2 separate regions of the Homo sapiens genome follow, and region 2 is linked to region 1. The links are contacts of gene promoters, found by promoter capture Hi-C in blood cells and fetal thymus (Javierre and others, 2016). All regions are on one chromosome and are shown on one strand. Each heading gives the region's core, a stretch centred on a gene start or on the middle of the fragment in contact. The rest is flanking DNA. Distances are from core to core; before and after follow the strand shown. Region 1 holds the start of BDKRB1-AS1 (BDKRB1 antisense RNA 1). Region 2 overlaps AK7 (adenylate kinase 7).

The links. Contacts are between HindIII fragments. The CHiCAGO score rates a contact against its expected background, and 5 or more counts as called.
Region 2: a contact is called between a fragment that was not itself captured here and the fragment with the promoter of BDKRB1-AS1 in region 1, in 1 of 17 cell types (activated CD4 T cells). The highest score is 6.7, in activated CD4 T cells.

The regions. Positions count from the first base shown.
Region 1 is chr14:96,266,187-96,272,172 of GRCh38, reverse strand. BDKRB1-AS1 (BDKRB1 antisense RNA 1) reads left to right here and starts at 3,593. Exons shown (of 2, transcript XR_007064322.1): 1 at 3,593-3,804. RefSeq lists an enhancer at 2,319-3,518. The HindIII fragment of the contact is 7,907 bases long and covers 1-5,986 here.
Region 2 is chr14:96,435,507-96,441,492 of GRCh38, reverse strand. It overlaps AK7 (adenylate kinase 7), which reads right to left. Exons shown (of 18, transcript NM_152327.5): 6 at 3,578-3,658. Among named protein-coding and RNA genes, the nearest start is that of AK7, 46 kb to the right of the region's middle. The HindIII fragment of the contact is 683 bases long and covers 2,579-3,261 here.

The DNA.
Region 1 (5,986 bases), core at 2,344-4,843:
CAGGACTGGAGTACTCCCTAGTCTGCCATAATTTCACCTAACCCATCAGTGGGGTTTTTTTTTTGGTTTTTTTTTTTAAGATGGAGTCTCATTCTGTCACCCAGGCTGGAGGGCAGTGGTGCAATCTCGGCTCACTGCAACCTCCATCTCCCAGGTTCAAGCCATTCTCCTGCCTCAGCCTCCCGAGTAGCTGGGACTACAGGCATGCACCACCATGACCAGCTAATTTTTGTATTTTTAGTAGAGATGGGGTTTTACCATGTTGACCAGGCTGGTTTTGAACTCCTGACGTCCTTGGCCTCCCAAAGTGCTGGGATTACAGGTGTGAGCCACCACTCTCGGCCCCATCAGTGGGTTTTAATTCCATCTGATGTTGGCCTTGTGCTTGCTGCAGCCTCCTGCCCATTCTCCAGAAGCAGAGTGATAGCTGCCTGGCTGTTGATCACAGATTCATGAGTAAGCCCAGCCAAGACCAGTAGAAGAACCACCCGGCTAAACCCAGCCCAAATGGCCAATTACAGAATTATGAGTTGAGGTGGTTGTTTTAAACCACTAAGTGTGGGAGTGGTTTTTTATGCAACATAGATAACTGATACACTGTGCAAGCCATCATCCATATTCTAGTGAAAGTGATCTCTCTGAAATGCAGTTCCAAACATGCCACTTCCTTGTTCAGTCTTCACTGACTCACATGGCCCAGAGGACAACAGTCACTCCTTGGGATTGGCATACATCTTCCAGCCCTTGATTTTGTTGGCTGAGAACTCGCGTGAGGGAAAAGTTGCAGGTGGCCAACACTCTCATTGTCCTACTTAACTTTAAGATCCAGCTCAAGGAACCCCCTTTCCTTCTGGAACTCCTTGCAGCAGACTTCGTCACCCCATGACGAGACATCTCACACTGAGGAATGATCTCTTTTCTTTTCTGCCTCCCTTACATGCAGTGAGCTCCTCAAGGGTGAGTGTGCAGTAGATGCTTCCTGGATTCTTGTTGCAGCCTCCTGCCAAGAGATCCTGCAGCTTCGCTGGGCTCCTCCAGAGACCAGGAACCCACGTCATTGAGGGCCATCAGTTCTATCATGGGACAGCTCTGCCTGTCAAAGAGCCCATCCTTAAATTAAGACAGAAAGTGTTTCTCAGGATTTTTTTCTCTTTGGTCCCTTTGGGGTAACACTAAGTGCATTTGTTCCTCTCTCCACATAAGTCTTATCTTCTGTGGTAAGCCCTCTGCCGCCATGTGTCTGGAGGGTGTGCTGTTGCATCCTCTCACCAGTCTGATCCCTGTCTTTGGAATCAGCCAAGAGCTGGACACAATACTCCTAATGGACCCTGTCCAGTGCTAAATTAAGGGAATATGACCTTCCTCATTTTAGAGGCTATACTCCTTTGAATGCAGCTGAGAGCTGGCAGCTATTTTGGCAGCTACAGTACACTGAGCCCCTTGTTGACTGAAGCCCTGAAATGTCTTCCTCTCGTACTTGCTGGGTCCCAACCAATCCTTCCTGATAGTTTTCTGTCCCCTGAAGCTCCTGAAAAGTAGGCTTGGCTTCCTGTTTACTGCCTTAAACACAATCCTGGCCATAGGGAGTCTCTGCAATCATCATGGCCACTCAAATGAGAACCCTGGCACTCAGGCCTCTTCTCTGACCTCAGCCTGAGACTGAGACCTGTCACCAGGGCCCAGCGGGCATCTTGGGTCTGAACAGAGCCCTTCAGCAGGAGCCCTGCTTACTCGGTGACCTTGGACAAGTCTGCTTGTCTCTGGACCTTGGTTTCTTCATCTGTAAGGCAGAGTGGTTGAACTTAATGATGCATTCTTTTTAAGGTTTTTAGTAGATTTGCATACAGTGATAAGAAAGATGCCTTGTACTCATTCTTTTTTTTTTTTTTTTTCTGAGACAGGGTCTCACTTTATTGCCCAGGCTGGAGTGCAATGGCACAATCATGGCTCACTGCAGCCTTGAACCCTGGGCTCTACTGATTTTCCCACCACATTCTCCCAAGTACCTGATACTACAGGTGTGCACCCCCATGCCTGGCTAATTTTTGTATTTTTACTAGAGACAGGGTTTCACCATGTTGCCTGGGCTGGTCTTTGAACTCCTGGGCTCATGTGATCTGCCTGTCTCGGCCTCCCAAAGTGCTGGGATTATAGGCATGAGCACTGTGCCCGGCCCCATTATTCTTTACTCAGTTTCCCCCAATAGTAACATCTTACACAAGGATCGTGCCATATCACAACCAGGAGAGTGACACGGACACCATTTTTGGGATTTTATTCAGACTGTGCTTTGACATGCATTCATTTCAGTCATAGTTAAAGCCTCTTCTGCTCATAGGAGAAAATGGTTGTTGGTGCTTGCTGGGGTGGCGCTGTCCTGGTGTCTCACATACATCTCTGACCTTCCTCTTGTCCTTTCTCGCCTTTCCTTCCCTTTCTTTGCCCATTACCTCTTTCCAAAAAGGGAATAAGGCCGTCCTTTTGGGTCACTTAATTTTCACAACGACACAGTGAGGCACTGCTCTCCTCATTCCCATTTTACAGATGGGATGCCGAGTTTCGGTGGTCGGCCAGGCCCATGCGGTGGTGGAGTGAGGACTGGAACAGTGGCATGTGTGACTCAGAGACCTGGACCTCTGACCGGCTGCACTGTGCACTCTGCAGCCCCGCGGTGAGGCCCTTCTTGGGCAGGGGCCTGAGCTGGGGGTGGTCCGGGGAGGCAAGAGGATGCTGAGAAGGAATCAAGGGGGTCTGGAGAAAGGGGCTGGGCACAGGGAAAGAGAAGGGCAGGAAGGAGCTGAAGGTGCACAGAGGCCAGAGCGGAGCTCAGCCGGAGCCAAGGCTTGGATCAGCCCTGGTTGGATGCCCAGGCTCCTCGGAGCTGTGGTGGGAGCAGGGGTGGGGAGGAACACTTTCCAGGGCTGCTTCCGACCTGCTCCTCATCAAATTTGTGACTCATCTCCGGAGAGCAAGAGCCTGCCTGTGGCCATTGCAACATCAGGGAGTTTCCCCGAGGCTGGGATTTGGAGGGCCTTAGTGCCACCCACTCCCCATGATGGATTGGGGTGATGATGGGGCAGGGTGGGGGCAGTTTTCTTACCTTCCCACTGCAGAGAGCAGTGAAGGCCACATATGGCCCCTGATCACGCGGTTCTGGAGCCCAGGACAGACCCAGAGCTGGGAACGGATTGGAGTGAAACCTTGTTCTCTCTTTCTACTTGGCCCTTCTCAGGGAGAGAGTGGAAGCCCACATGGGTGCTGGAGCTGGGGATGCTGGAAGACTATTTGCTAATTCCTCCCTCCACCCCAGGTGTTAGCACCACAGGTGTGGCCTGGGCCTGGCCCCATATGGAACACGCCAGGTGAACCTATCAACCAGATCCATGGGAACTCAGATATATTACCTTTTCCCACAGCATCGATCCTTTTAGTCAAGGCAGAAATTTCTCCCTCTGTAAATGAATAACTGGCCTTCCCCACAGAAGGGCAACAGAATTCTACTGTACGGGTTTGCCAGTTTCTCTCCCACTGTGGGGCCATTTGCTGGGCTTCGGTAAACGTTACTTATGTGCGTCTCATAAATCAGGTGTCTGAGTTCTCAGGCTGTGGCTGCAGTCTACCATTGAATTACATCCCGTGAGCAATGTTGTCCGATTTCACCGGCCAGCACGTTCTTCTCGAGTGTGGGATTGGTTTTTGCAAGACCTCGAAAGGATTTTGATAAGCCACCTGCTTAAGGCCGGCTGAAAAAGAAGAAAGGAGGGCATATGTGGGTCAGCTCACTCGGAATAGAAGAGGAATCAGGTATTATTTTCCCTTTCCCACTCTCTATTCCTGCCTGTTCCTGCCTACTTTTGCCACTTTGCCACAGAGCCTTTGCCCAATGAATTCCTGCCTGGGGGCTTGGAAATCACATTGGTGTTGGAGTCAGATGAGTTGGGTGAATCCAGCCTCTGCAGTCTGAGCAGGCACTGCCTTCCTTAGCCTCCTCTTCCTCACCTAGAAAGTGGACATCCTGAAACAGACCTCACAAGGGAGTCAGGCGATTAAATGAGATGACTGAGCCTACTCCTGTGTGTGGCTGCTGAGTCGCACTGGGTGTGCTTGGGCAGGTCTTACTGCTCTCTGTTTCCTAGACTGTATGTGAAGGGATGGTCTGGATGAGGGGTTGCAAACTTAACCTCCCATAGCTTCCATGCGTGTGAACCTGATGGGAGGGCGCCCTGTTCACGGGGCCTCTGCTACACAGCACCAAAGAATTGGAGCCCCGGGGGGACCCTGGAAGGTCAACTCCAAGGGCCCAGGGATGTTCCTCTCTTTTGTTCACTGCCATATTTTCAGTGCCCAAAACAGTGTCTGACAAAGTAGATGCTTAATAAATATCTGCTGAATGAATGAAATTGAATCAGTGTTGCTGGATGTTCCAAACTTTCAAAAGAAACTGGAAAGCTGGCTCCCAATGGGGAGTTTCAGTACTGGTAACCAACTCAAGAGCCTGGGGGCTTGGAGTTTTAAAAAATACCATGTGGTTCAAATTAAACACATGTGCAGGCTGGATCTTGCCTGTTGGCTCAGCTCCAGGCCTTCTGACGACACTCTGCTCTCCAGGAAACCTGCAGGGGCTGGAACACTGATCACAGGGTTATCACTGATGAGGTCCTGGTGGCCCAGCCGCTGCCAGCCTCTCAAACCCTGTCTCCAGGCTCCAAGAACATGGCATTCTTTCCATTCCTGGAATGAATGAGTCTTTGCTGCTATTCTGTGAGGACCAGCCCTTCCCGTGCAGCTGTGGGGACTGCCATTCTCCCCATTCCCCCAAGTGTCTTGGAGTCCAGTCACTACACCCTCTCCCCCACTCCATGGAAACTGACCTTGGAATGGCCTCCTGGCCCACGGACTCTCTCCTCCCCAGGGCCTGACAATGTCCCGCCTGCCTGTGAGGGCCCAGGTAGGGCCCACCCACCACCTGACCTCTCCATTCTCTATGTTGTCTCCAACCTCCTTCTTCTTCCCTCTACTTCAGCCACCTGGTGCCAGGGATACACTTGGTCCTTGTCATCTCCTGAGATGGCTCTGCCTCTGGAATGTTCTACTCAAACATTCCTGCTCTGTGGCTATGCCTTCCTCTCTCTCTTTTAATGAGACAGGGTCTCACTCTGTCAGCCAGGCTGGAATGCAGTGGCACAATCTTGGCTCACTGCTTGTAGCCCTGACCTCCTGGGCTCAGATGATCCTCTTGCCTCAGCCTCCCAAGTAGCTGGGACTACAGGTGCGCACTACCACGCCTGGATAATTTTTGTATTTTTTGTAGAGACGGGGTCTTGCTATGTTGCCCAGGCTGGTCTCAAACTCCCGGGCTCAAGCCATCCACCTGTCTCAGCCTCCCAAAGTGCTGGGATTACAGATTGCACCCTTTGTGGAAACCAGGCTCACGGCTGATTCCCTTCACAGTGTACAGAAGATCACGCCTGGCTCTTCTTCTGTTTCTTGCTGTCACCCAGGTTCTCTCACTATATCCATCCTTTAACACACTGATCTCACTTCACTTCCTTCTCTCCCTGTGCTCGTTTCTTCCCTCTCCATCATTCCCCCGAGTCTGACCAGGATCCCCAACTCCCATGACGTATGGCCGTCTATCTGGCTAAACCCTACTCCAGAGCAATCCTTTCCTGGGTCTGTCGAGCATTATCAGAGTAAATTCACACAACACAGCCACGCTTTCCAGCTTCAATGGGGCCCTCAAAGCTGCCTGGAGCCCACCATCCTTCCTGGGTGAACTGTCTTTGCCAGCTGACCATGGTGGACCCAGCCTGTCCATTCTCCTCCAGCCCCAATTCTCTCCATGACCCGCCTCCTCCTCTGCCATCCTTCAACCTCTCCCTCCTAACCTGTAACCCCACCTGCCTCTGGGCCTACTTTGTTCCTTCTGTCTGGAACACTCCTTTCCCCCATTTTGCTTGGCCAGCTTCTCATTTTTTGGGATTCA
Region 2 (5,986 bases), core at 1,671-4,170, 170 kb before region 1:
TAATTTTTGTATTTTTAATAGAGATGGGATTTCACCATGTTGGCCAGGCTGGTCTCGAACTCCTGACCTCAGGTGATCTACCCGCCTCAGCCTCCCAATATGCTGGGATTACTGGCGTGAACCACCATGCCTGGCCTCATACCTTCCTCACAATTTGCCCACTATGAAATTATCTGTAGGCCCCAAGAGCTTTACCCGAAAACAGTTCTGTTGAATTTCACCCTGACAATGTAAATTGACAGCTTATCTTCACAGGTACAGGACAAGGACAGAACTCAAAGTCATCCCTAGGCTCACCTGACACAAATGCCTATCTGATTGCTTCCTCGGCCCTATGTCTATTTTATCTTACATAAAAATGCAGATTCGCTGAGCTAGATAAATGCATAAGTGACTATTCCTCTACCCTTCCCTCATGTCGAACAGCTGATCAAAGACTCAAAAGAATGTGCCCGCTTGCCTCTTATCTACCCACACCTTTTATTTATTTTTTGCAGATGCAGGGTTTCACCATGTTGCCCAGGCTGGTCTCAAACTCCTGGGTTCAAGCCATCCACTCACACTGGCCTCCGAAAGTGCTTTACTGGGATTATAGGCATCAGCCACCATGCCTGGCTTACCCACATCTTTAAAAAATTTCTTCCTCTTTCTCTAATATCTACCCTTTTCCCTTTAAATATTGAAGCACTCAAAGTCATCTTTGGAGAAAGGCACAGGCCTATCTCCTGGGCGTGCATCCTTAACCTTGGCACAATAAACTTCTAAATTGATTGAGACCTGTCTCAGAAACTTTTTGGTTTGCAGTAAGGAGGGAGGAGTTGGATTCTGATCATGTAGCTGGTTGGAGGGTTACCCCATTTTCTGAGATGGGGCCTTGGAGGAGGAGCAGGTTTGGGGATGACTGTAGGTATAGTTTGGATTTGGGAAAGACATCCAAGTTGAGGTGCTGAGTAGGCAGCTGGACCTACAGAGCTAGAACTTAGGAGAGAGAGCCTCGCTGGAGACTGAAGTTTGAGTCATTGGTATCAGTCATAGGAATAAACAGACCAAGGGAGAGAGAGCAGAGGGTGAAGAAAAAAGGTCTAGGGCCGAGGCCTGCGAATGCCAAGATTCAGTGAGCAGGTAGGTGAGAAGTAGCTGAGAATGGACAATGAGTAAGAGCTTCCTTGAGCTTCTCCTCTGCAACTGTCATATCTCTTGTATTAAAAAAATCAGTTCGAGGCCGGGCACGGTGGCTCACGCCTGTAATCCCAGCACTTTGGAGGCTGAGGCGGGCGGATCACGAAGTCAGGAGTTCAAGACCAGCCTGGCCAATATGGTGAAACCCTGTCTCTACTAAAAATACAAAAATTAGCTGGGCATGGTGGCACACACCTGTAATCCCAGCTACTCGGGAGGCTGAGGCAGGAGAACTGCTTGAACCCAGGAGGTGGAGATTGCAGTGAGTTGAGATTGCACCACTGCACTCCAGCCTGGGTGAAAGAGTAAGACTCCTTCTTTAAATAAATAAATACATAATAAATAAATCAAATAAAAATTAAAAATCAGTTCAACCAACCTCTCTTGACTACACTTTATCCTTTAACTCCGCCTTCTTTCTTTGCACCCCCCTCCTTTTACAGGAAAATTCCTTGAAATATTTCTCTGTTCTCATTGTCTTCAATTCCCCTCCAGCTGTTCCTCTTGAACCTGCGGCTGTTAGACTTTTGTCCTACCTAGTGCCAAAAAATTTAGCGGTCAATTTGTAGGTTTCATCTTAGTTGATTATCTGCAGTATCTGACACAATTTGTCATTCTTTCTTTTTAAAAACTTTTTTTTTTTTTTTTTTGAGATGGAGTCTCGCTCTGTCACCCAGGCTGGAGTGCAGTGGTGCAATTTCGGCTCACTGCAAGCTCCGCCTCCTCGGTTCACACCATTCTCCTACTTCAGCCTAACGAGTAGCTGGGACCACAGGCTCCCGCCACCATGCCCGGCTAATTTTTTGTATTTTTAGTAGAGACGGGGTTTCTCCGTGTTAGCCAGGATAGTCTTGATCTCCTGACCTTGTGATCCGCCTGCCTTGGCCTCCCAAAGTGCCGGGATTACAGGCGTGAGTCGGCCAAAAATATTTTTTTTAATAATTATTTACTTTTCTCTTATTTCCTCTCCTGCTTCCTGCCCACCCTTCTCAACCTCCTTTCCTAATTCCTTCCCATTTCCCTATAACCTCCAATATTGGAGGGTTCCAAGACTCAGTCCTCAGGCCCCTATCTCTTCTCCATATTCATTCAGTAGTTGATGTCATCCAGTCCCAAGGATTTAAGTACCCACTGTATACTGACAGCTCCCATGATTATATCTCCAGACCTGACCTCCCCCATGATCACCAAACTCTTTTTGTCCAATAGCCTTCCCAGTATCTATACTTGGATATTAATTATCTCAAACTTCCTGAACTTTTCATTGCATTGTACCCCAACCAGCTCCATTCCCTGTCTTCCCCATTTCAATAAGTGGCAGTGCCATACTTCTAGTTGCTTAGACCAAAATCCTTAAAGTTATCCTTTACTATGTTTCTGTCATCCTTACATCCAAGCTTTGAACAAATCCCATTGACTCTCTCTTCAAAATACGTCTGAAATCTGAACAGTTTCCAGTATCCCCACCATGCCCACCCAGGTCTTAGGCACTACCCTGCTCACTGGTTTCCTTGCTTCCTGCTCCTGCCCATGCCCCAAATAGTACATCCTCAGCACAGCAGAAGGAGAAAGCTGTCCTTTTATATCATATGGATTATGTTGCTTCTGTGCTCAGTCTAATGGTTGTCCAACTCACTCAGAAAGAAAGCCAGAGCTTCACGAGGGGCTACCAGGCTGGGCTTGGTCTGACTCTCTCATTACCGCTTTGACCTCATTACCGCTGTTCTCCCATACTTCAGCTAGATTGATCTAGATTGGTCTTCAAATGTAGCCAGCACATTTCTGCCTCACTTCTTTGCAGTAACAATTCTCACTGTCTGGGATGTCTTTCTCCAGAAAGCCGATTAGCCAGCTCCTTCATTGCCTTTCCCTTCCTACTCAAATGTCACATCGTTGGAAAGACCTTCCTCAACCTTCCTATATAAGATATAACAGCCCCAATCCCCGCAACCTTACTCCCCAGCACTCTCTGCCTTTCTCTGCTCTGTTGTTTTCCATACCCTGTTTCAACATCTGAAATACTCAACATTTACCGGCTTGCTTATTATCTATCTCTTTCTCCATCCCCCTAGAATGTAAGCTTCGCAAGAGGAGGGACTTTATTATTTTACTGTATCCCAAGTACCTACAACAGTTTCCAGCACCTGATGGGCACTACATCAATATCTGTTTCATGAATGAAAGGAGATACGTCTTTTTCATTATTATTTTGAGAGTGGTGAATACAAGTTAATAATGGGAAAGAAACGTAGGTCTTTGTGGTGACATCCATACTTGCCTTCATCTTCTGCTATTCTACTGCACTAACCACACCCAAAGCAATCAAAAACACCTTCAAATTGCGTATCTGTATCGTAAGACACTTTTAAACATTCCACGTCATCATTGAAAGCCATACCTTAAAAAATGTGTGTAACATGCCTCCTTCCGCTCCATACTGGAGTCCAGCAGCAACTACGTATGCTGCAAATTTTCTGGCCTATTAGATAAAATACAGAAAAAAAAAGCTGGATGTAATATTATTAGTCATACTGAACCAGATTATTTTAGTAGTTAAAATGAGCACTTTCAGAACTTCCGTCAACTCTTGCAGGTTACTGAGTATTGTTCGGGATACAAATCCTATCTCTTAAAGAGAGAAACGACACCCCCGCACTATTCAGGAATACCTCTGACTACTATTAAAATTTAACAAGGACTCCTAATTAAATTAAAGCCAGGGTTTTTGTGAAAACTTTGTACCTGTAAGCTCTATGCTCGGCACTGAGGGGGAAAAGAGAAAGAAAAACAGGTCTTTCCACGAGGATCTTTAATGATCTAGTACCTGAAACCAAGAAGCTGGTAATGGGCCTTAACACAAGGATGGAAATTCACATGGATTGTCCACTTCACTCTGGACAAGCAGTTTAGGCACTGTAAGAACTGGAGTCAGTATTCCTTTATTTTTAATTTTTAATATTTGTGGGTACATAATAAGTATATAGATTTATGGGGGTGCATGAGATGTTTTGATACAGGCATGCAATGTGAAATAAGCACAACATGGAGAATGGGGTATCCATCCCTTCAAGCATTTATCCATTGAATTACAAACACTCCAATTATACTCTTTAAGTTATTTAAAAATCTATAGTTCAGTTATTACTGACTATAGTCTCCCTGCTGTGCTATCAAATAGTAGGTCTTATTCATTCTTTCCAACATTTTTTGTACTCATTCACTATCCCTCCCTCCCCCCACCCCCTACTACCCTTCTCAGCCTCTACTCTCTGCCTCAATATTTAACCAGATAAGCTCAAAATACCATCTTTATTATTGATATGAGTTCTGCTGGAGGCCATGCCTTAGGTGAGCCATGATGATGAGCTTCCTAACCCTGAATCCAGAATAAGATGAACTTTTCCAACCAGTCCCAGGCCACACTGGACAGCGAGGGACTCCTCCACATGGCGGCCTGCTGCTGTAAGTCTCAGGGCATGAGGAAGGTGAAATGCACAGTAGCCACCATCCCTGGAGTCCCAGAGAGAAGGGAAGGAGGAGGGGCCAAGCTCACATGGCCAGGCCCTCCTCAAACCCACCAATCAGAAAACTCGCTTGAACTTCTTCAGGCGAACAGGGGATGGTGCAAGAAGACAGGAGTTTTTTGTTTGTTTGTTTGTTTGTTTGTTTTGAGACAGAGTTTCACTTGTTGCCCAGGCTGGAGTGCAGTGGCATAATCTAGGCTCACTGCAACCTTGGCCTCCTGGGTTCAAGTGATTCTCCTGCCTCAGCCTCCCAAGTAGCTGGGATTACAGGTGAGAACCACCATGCCCAGGTAATTTTTGTACTTTTAATAGAGACAGGGTTTCCCCATGTTGGCCAGGCTGGTCTTGAACTCCTGACCTCAAGTGATTCACCTGCCTCGGCCTCCCAAAGTGCTGGGATTACAGGTGTAAGCCACTGCGCCCGGCCTACAGGAGTTTTTAGGAAGAATGTTACTCAGGCTCTTGTGGGAAGGTAGTGATCTCACCTCACAAATATTAGGCCTGAAAAGGAGGACTTAACCACAAATACAATAGAGATTTTAAAAATTGTAAGACAGACTTAAGGACAACTTTCTGTCAATTGATTTGAAAATTTAGCCTAAAGGGCTCATTTCTTGCCCCCAAACACCTGTTAACTGCCTTCCCACAGTCCAAGACAGTTTTTCAACCAAAGTCTACCAAACAGTCAAAAGATAATCCCAGAGGCAGGGCAAGATGGCGGGATGGAAATCTCCCCTGCAAGGACAACAATAACTACCTACACAGAAAAAACAGCTTCATAAGAACCAAAAATCAGGTGAGCCCTCACAGTACCTATTTTAACTTCATATCGCTGAAAGAGGCACTGAAGAACCAGAAAAAACAGTTTGGAATCGCCAAAGCCACCCACCCTCACCAGCAGGAGAGCATCTCTGGGTGCTGCAGGAGGGAGAACACAGCATTTGAGAGGCATTGAACTCAGCACTGTCCTGTTAGAGCAGAAAGAAAAACCAGACCAAATTCAGCTGATGCCAGCCCAGCCCATGGAAGGAGCATTCAAACCAGCCTGAGTCAGAGGGGGCTCTCCGGTATCAGCGGTCGTAATTTAAGTGCCTCCAAACCTCGCCACCGAGGGCTACAGCGCTCTGTGTCTCCAAGCAAACTTGAAAGACAATCCAGGCCATAAGGACTGCAACTCTAGGTGAGTTCCAGTGCTGAGCGAGGCCCAGAGACAGTGGACTGGGGAGGGCATGCAACATACTGAGACACCAGCTGGAGCAGCCAAGGAAGAACTGGTACCACCT